2 separate regions of the Homo sapiens genome follow, and region 2 is linked to region 1. Evidence: promoter capture Hi-C in 16 types of primary human blood cells and fetal thymus (Javierre and others, 2016). All regions are on one chromosome and are shown on one strand. The core of a region is centred on a gene start or on the middle of the fragment in contact, and the rest is flanking DNA. Distances in the headings are between cores, read along the strand shown. Region 1 holds the start of CACNB1 (calcium voltage-gated channel auxiliary subunit beta 1). Region 2 overlaps FBXL20 (F-box and leucine rich repeat protein 20).

Region 1 (3,724 bases), core at 806-3,305:
GATCCCTGGCACCATGGGGGCAAATTTTGCTCCCCACTCTCATCCCTTGCCCAGACAGGACTTTTTCTCAGCTCCCTCTCTCACAATCACAGTAGCTACAATCCTCCCCAAGGGGGCAAGAGGGATCAAGCTTCTACCCTGTGGCCCCCAGCTGCCACTGCCCATGCCCCATGCCCATGGTACCCATCAGGCTACGTCAATCTAAATGTCCCTCGGCCCCGCACCACATGAGCCTAGGACACAGCCCCACAGATCTCTAGGGGGTAAGCTGGCTCAGTCTCAGAGACCGGGTGGAGGAAATACCGCCTGACCATTCAGGAAGCCACACGTTCAGGTTAAGGGCGTCAGGTATTTCCAGTCCTCTTGTAAGAAGAGCTGCTTCTGGCCCTCCCCAGCTTGTACCCACACACACTTGGCCTCAGCCCAGTTCAGAATGGGGAGAGTGAGTGAGGGCTCAGACTTCCAAGTCCCCGCCCTTGGTCTCCATCCTAGACTTTCTTTGGCCAAAGAACCTGGAGGGGCCATGACCAGACTGGGGGCTTTGGCTGCTGGGATCAGGGTACAAGAAAGAGGATGGAAAATGGGAGAGGAGGGCCCCTGGGGACCTTTCCAAGATCCTCCCCTCCCCGCCCTTCTCTCAAACCAGACATATACCCCAACTCAAGTTGTGATGCTCCCTACAAACCTAGGAGGATCACCCAGTGAATCCCAGACACCACCCTCCCCCACCACTGCCAGGCTGGGCAAAGGGAGTGGCACTCAGAGGGACAGGGGACAGCTGAAAGGAAGGCCCCAGTCAGCTGCCTCCCAGGCTCAAAGGGGCCTGGGGTGGAGGAAGGTATTTTTAGGTCTGACTTGACCCCTCTACATACCCATCAGTCACATTATCATGGTGGTTACAGCTGGTGGCCACAGTAACAGAAGAGTTAATGCTATCCTTGGAGAAGGACACTCCCAAAGAAATCCCCTGGCGCGACCATCCCAGAGCCTGCTGGTCACCCCATGAGAACCCACCGCGCCCAAGAATGCCACTTCCTGGGAGTAACCAGGGGTGTAGGAAAAGTGTGCGGGTGGGGATGGAGAAGTAGACCCCTCCCCCAGGTAAAACAGCTTCCCCCCCTCCTATGAGTTGGCATCCATCCAACTTTCCAAACTTTGGAGGCGTTTTTGGGGCGGGGGTGGGGGTGGGGTAAGTCAACGTGGGTGTGGGGGGAGGGGAGCAGGTCCGACATAGAGATGGAGCCCAGGTGGCTGGGAGGGGACCTCGACCGGGGTTGGCTCTTTCCCCACCCTCGAGAACCAGTGTCTGCGGCTTTGAAGGCCTGTTGGCATTTGGCACCGCCCTCTGACCATCGCCTCGGCCACCTCCTCGTGCCACCCCCGCCCCACCCACACCCGCCTGGCGCCCCCGAGCGTGCTCTGCGTCGCCCCCCTTGCCTGGCTCGCTTTCTAGCCTCTTTCAACCTCCCCTTCTCAAGGCCCAGATCCCCCTCCACCAGCACCCCCACGCTCAGCCCACTGAAGCTGGTGCCCAAGCGGCAGGAACCTTGACGCGGGGGAGATAAGGAGGCGAGGGTGACAGGCAGCCCACCCGCCCCCTCCCCGCTCCGCAGCATCGCCACCCAGCCCCAGGCCCAGCGCCCATCAATCACAACCTGCAAGGATGGGGGGCGCGCAGGCATCCCTCTCTCCTCCGCGCCCGGCATATAACCCCTTCCTCTCCCGCGCCTCTCGAGCCGACCTTAACACGGTCCGCGGGAGCGACCCCCTCCCGTTGGGCCGGGCCACCACGCCTCACCTGCGGGCTGGGGTCGAAGACCTCCATGGGGATCTCCTGGGAGGGTGGGTAAGGGCCCCGGGACATGCTGGTCTTCTGGACCATGGAGAGGAGCCTCCCCTCCCGCCGCCGGCCCGGCCCAGCCGGGCTCCCTCAGCGCATGGGAGAGGCCGTGGGAGCCGAAAGCAGCGCGGCGCAGCCAGCACCCGGTCCAGCCACCCAGCTCGGCCTTCGGCTGCCTCCTTCCTGCCTTCCCTCGCTCCTCCCGCTCTCTCCACTGCCGCCGCCGCCTCCCCCGTAGGCTCAGCATCTCCCCGCGCCCCTCCCTCGCTCCCTCCCTCCGCCCGCCCGGCCCCGCCCCTCGCAGCCCCTCCGCCGGCTCGGCGCACACAATGGGCGTGCGGCAGCAGGGAGGCAAGCCCCTCTCGGCTCTAGGTGGCCGCAGGTGGGCCTCTGACTGGCCGTGGGGTGCAGGCGGCCCGCTGGGGCGGGAAGGCAGAAACTAGGCGTGGAACTTGGGGGAGGGGTGGGGGGGCGGTCTACCAGTGGATGCCGAGCGCTGATGGGGATTGGCATGGCTGGCACCACCCCCCTTTTGTCCCAAACCTCTCTTCCTGCGGGTCCCCCCAACCCACTCCTGTTTGGACCACCGGAACTTCCCGGTCCCGGTGATCCTGGGACCTGGCTTTAACTCCTTTCTCCCCAGTGTGGGGCCCAGGCTGCCTCAAACCAAACAGAAAAGCCTCTCCCTCCAACATGGCTCTGGGGCTGCCGGTGGGAGGCTGAGGCTGAGATGGGGAGGGTGTCCAATAGAGACAGCAAAATAAATCCCAGGGGTCCAGGAGTTCTGCCCTAATCAGTCACTAGGATACACCGCCCCCCCAACCCCTGTTCTTCCAAAAGGCCAGGAATGGGGCTGGGTGAGGTCCCTGCTCTTGGATGAGAAAAGAGGAAGAAATATGGAGCTGAGAGAGGAGAAGCTGGTAAAATCAGATCTCATGACCTTTGACCTAGAATTGCGCCACCTTTACCCCTGATTTAGGGAGAAACATCCAAGATCTGGATGCCACCCACCATGACTGGTGGAGAGAAGAGGAATAGGAGATTCTGGGCAATAGACTCTGGCGCCAATTTGGCTCAGGCTGTTTCTGGTTGTATAGCCCCGGACAAATCACCTCTCTGAGCATCAGTTTCCTCCTCTCCTATAAAATGGGGTTGCTGGTACTGTGGAGTCTGTGTCACCTGGTATTATTGGGAGGATGAGGGAGAATTAAATGAATTGCTGGGGTGTTTGGAGAAGCTGTAAGTTTCAATGAAGGGGTCACTCATGACAGGAGGACCCATTCCCTTCCTACTCCACCCCTTCTCCTGCTCCACAGAAAGGAGAGATGGAGAAGACCCTCTCCAGGTCAAGTGACCTTACAATAAGGCCACCACCTTGCTGTGTTCCGCAGGACAGGAGACTATGGGACTCCTCCTCCTCACCCAACTCTAATAGCAAGTGAATGGTCAGTCTGTCATTCCTCTGATCACAACACCTTGGGGAAGGCGGAGCAGTGAGTGAAGATGAAGCCCATTAGAAACGTTCCAGGAGAGTTCCAACCCTGAGCAGGGTTTCCACCTGCCCCTTGGAGACAAGAAAGGCTGGCATAACCGCAAAAGTATGGGCTTTGCAATCAGAAATATCTGTGTTCTGAATCTGTTACCTTAGCTGTAAAATGAGGGCAACGCTAATCGTGTTGTTGTGAGGAAGTAGCATAAATGTTGCTTCCCTTTCTCTCTCTTCTACTTTCTCAGCCAGGAAAGTTGAGATGAAACGGATAGGGTGATCAGCAGGAACCAATCATGAGTTGGAGCCTCAATTCAGATGTAGACTTCTTAAACCCCAGAATGTTCTTCTTGGATTTTTACATTGGGTGTTCCAGATCAGAAGAAAAGGACTGCTTT
Region 2 (3,724 bases), core at 378-2,877, 190 kb after region 1:
GTTTATCAGGGCACAGTCCCATCTGTATTATAAAAACTAAAAAGGTAATGTGATGAGTTAATTACATATTTCATTTGAATATATATTTGACAGTGGTTAGAGGATCAGCTAGATCTTGACCACAACTTCAGAACGCCATTTATTGAGACCACTTATAATGCAAATTTCACATTATTGAAATAATAAGTAATATAAATGCTTGAGAAAATGGTATTATTTTTTCTTGGTATTCTTTCTATATTAAAAACTTATTTTGACCAGGCATGGTGGCTCACACGTGTAATCCCAGCACTTTGGGAGACCAAGGCAGGCAGATTGCTTAAGCTCAGGAGTTTGAGACCAGCCTGACCAACATGGCAAAATCTCATCTCTACTAAAAGTGCAAAAAAAATAGCTGGGCATGGTGGCACACGACTGTAATTCCAGCTACTCGGGAAGGTGAGGCACAAGAATCACCTGAGCCTGGCAGGTGGAGGTTGCAGTGAGCCAAGATCGCACTACTATGGCTCCAGCCTGGGCAACAGAACAAGAACCTGTCTCAAAAAAAAAAAGTTGCTTTTTTTTTTTTAATTTTTTTTTTTTGAGACGGCGTCTCGCTCTGTCGCCCAGGCTGGAGTGCAATGGCGTAATCTCAGCTCATTGCAACCTCCGCCTCTCGGGTTCAAGCAATTCTCCTGCCTCAGCCTCCCGAGTAGCTGGGACAACAGGCGCCCGCCACCATGCCCAGCTAATTTTTATACTTTTAATAGAGACGGGGTTTCACCATGTTGGCCAGGATGGTCTCGATCTCTTGACCTCGCGATCCACCCACCTTGGCCTCCCAAAGTGCTGGGATTACAGGTGTGAGCCACCGCGCCCGGCAAAAGCTGCATTTTTTGTTGTGCTTTAAAAAATTAGATCTGCCGGGTGCAGTGGCTCACGCCTGTAATCCCAGCACTTTGGGAGGCTGAGGTGGGTGGAGTACCTGAGGTCAGGAGTTCGAGACCAGCCTGACCAACATAATGAAACCCCCATCTCTACTAAAAATACAGAAAATTACCTGGGCATGGTGGCAGGCGCCTATAATCCCAGCTACTAGGGAGGCTGAGGCAGGAGAATCGCTTGAACCCGGGAGGCGGAGGTTGTAGTAAGCTGAGATCACGCCATTGCACTCCAGCCTGGGCAACAAGAGCAAAACTCCATCTCAAAAAAAAAAAAAAAAAAAAAAAAATTAGATCTACATTTGGGAAGCTTCTTTTATATAACCCCAGTCAACTGTGACTAAGAATACTGAATAATAATGAAGTTTCTTATCTCCCTGCAGTTACTATTCATGATAATGTACAAGGAAAGTTATAGTATTAAAGAAAAGTTTTAACCAGTCCTAGGAGAACGCCAAGATACATCAGGTTGCTTTTCTACAAGTGGGTGGCAGAAATAAGTTGTGATATGATTTTGTTTAATATGACCTTCTTTTCTTTACATGAAACACATGCAAACGATTTTCAAAAAGCTGATAAGGACGAATGTCGGGAAAGGGTATTGGCAATGCAGTGCTCGTTTTAAAAAATAAATGCAGGCCAAGTGCAGTGGGAAAGGGTATTGGCAATGCAGTGCTCGTTTTAAAAAATAAATGCAGGCCAAGTGCAGTGGCTCATGCCTGTAATCCCAGCACTCTGTGAGGCTGATGCAAGCACATCACAAGGTTAGGAGATCGAGACCATCCTGGCTAACACGGTGAAACCCTGTCTCTACTAAAAATACAAAAAATTAGCCAGGTGTGGTGGCAGGTGCCTGTAGTCCCAACTACTCAGGAGGCTGAGGCAGGAGGATGGCGTGAACCCAGGAGGCGGAACTTGCAGTGAGCCAAGATCGCACCACTGAACTCCAGCCTAGGTGACAGAGTGAGACTCTGTCTCTAAATAAACAAATAAATAAATAAATGCATCTTTAATGTCTGTGTTTAATCATGTCATAGCTTTACTTTCTACATATCAGAGAAGGAAGAATGACCCATTTCTGGGGGCGGAGGTAGGGTGCGGTTAAAAGCTTGCTGATCCAGTGTTTTAGATGTCAACTTACAATTTGGTGCCAGATTTTCATCTTAGGAGACACTTATTCATATTTGCCTAACAATGAGTACAATAATAGTTGCAGTATAAATTCTAGACTGAAACACTACTAAATTATTACTGTTGAACTAGATTAAAATTCATAGGCATTCCTGTTTAATAAACCCAATATAAAAAACTGATTAGGCTGGGTGCAGTGGCTCATACCTGTAATCCCAGCACTTTGGGAAGCCAAGGTCCAGGAGTTTGAGACCAGCCTGGGCAACATGGCGAAATCCCATCTCTACAAAAAAATACAAAAATTGGCCAGACGCGGTGGCTCACACCTGTAATCAATCCCAGCACTTTGAGAGGCCGAGGCAGGTGGATCACCTGGGGTCATGAGTTCAAGACTAGCCTGACCAACATGGTGAAACCCCGTTTCTACTAAAAATACAAAAATTAGCCAGGCGTGGTGGTTGGCACCTGTAATCCCAGCTACTAGGGAGGCTGAGGCAGGAGAATCACTTTAACCTGGGAGGCAGAGGTTGCAGTGAGCTGAGATGGCGCCACTGCACTCCAACCTGGGTGACAGAGCGCAAGACTCCATCTTAAAAAAAAAAAAAAAATAGCCAGATATGGTGGCACCCACCTGTAGTCCCAGCTACTGGGGAGACAGAGGTGGGAGGATGGCCTGGGCCCCAGAGGTCAAGGCTGCAGTGAGCCCTGATGTCACCACTGCATTCCAACCTGGGTGATAGATCAAGACCCTGTCTCAAACAAAAACTGAGTCAGATAAATAAAGAGGTCATTAGTAGGCCAAGTACAGTGGCTCACGCCTGTAATCCTAGCACTTTTGGAGGCCAAGGCAGGTGGATCACGAGGTAAGGAGTTCAAGACCAGCCTGGTCAAGATGGTAAAACCCTGTCTCTACTAAAAATACAAAAATTACCCGGGCATGGTGGCAGGCGCCTGTAATCCCAGCTACTTGGGAAGCTGAGGCAGAGAACTGCTTGAACCCAGGCAGAGGTTGCACTGAGCAGAGACAGCTCCACTGCACTCCAGCTTGTGCGACAGAGCAAGGCTCTATCTCAAAAAAAAAGATCATTAGTTGTATTCTTCCCTCTGTAAAAGGATTTTTCCATTAAATAGTAAGTTCCTCTAAAGCATTTAAAATTTATTTGCAGTTCGGTGCAGTGGCTCATTCCAGTAATCCTAGCACTTTGGGTGGCCAAGGTGGGAGGATTACTTGAGACTAGGAGTTGGAAACCAGCCTGGGCAACTAGTAAGACCACCTGTCTCAAAAAAAAAAAAAAAAAATTATTAAGAAAAAAAAAGAAACAAGCAGGAATCGAAAGCAGTATATAGGATAATATTACAAAGTCTAACTGGCTTTTCTTTAATAGCAGATGTAAGCAAAGAAATCTAAGAACACTGGCAATAAACTGACTATCTAATCTCTCTCCAGAGAATCACAGAATTTCCATGCTAGAAGGAAACAGAGTTGAGACAATGTAGGTCCAGAGACGTAACTTACCCAAGGTCCCACAGACACCAGTAATACTAGAACTTCACTAGAATATGTATAATACACACAAAAAAAAACACAAATTTATATAAATTATAAGAGTACATTTTGTTTCATAGTTCGGAACTGACTCCCTTCGTAAAATCCTGATGACATCACCTTAAAG

Evidence for each region. The method cuts DNA at HindIII sites, captures the fragments that hold promoters and counts their contacts. A CHiCAGO score of 5 or more calls a contact.
Region 2: a contact is called between a fragment that was not itself captured here and the fragment with the promoter of CACNB1 in region 1, in 1 of 17 cell types (megakaryocytes). The highest score is 5.3, in megakaryocytes.

The regions. Positions count from the first base shown.
Region 1 is chr17:39,195,614-39,199,337 of GRCh38, forward strand. It overlaps CACNB1 (calcium voltage-gated channel auxiliary subunit beta 1), which reads right to left and starts at 2,056. Exons shown (of 14, transcript NM_000723.5): 1 at 1,799-2,056. The coding sequence starts at 1,882. RefSeq lists silencers at 1,254-1,383, 1,814-2,213, 2,224-2,353. The HindIII fragment of the contact is 8,246 bases long and covers 129-3,724 here.
Region 2 is chr17:39,387,920-39,391,643 of GRCh38, forward strand. The region is part of intron 1 of FBXL20 (F-box and leucine rich repeat protein 20); the gene reads right to left. Among named protein-coding and RNA genes, the nearest start is that of FBXL20, 12 kb to the right of the region's middle. The HindIII fragment of the contact is 798 bases long and covers 1,229-2,026 here.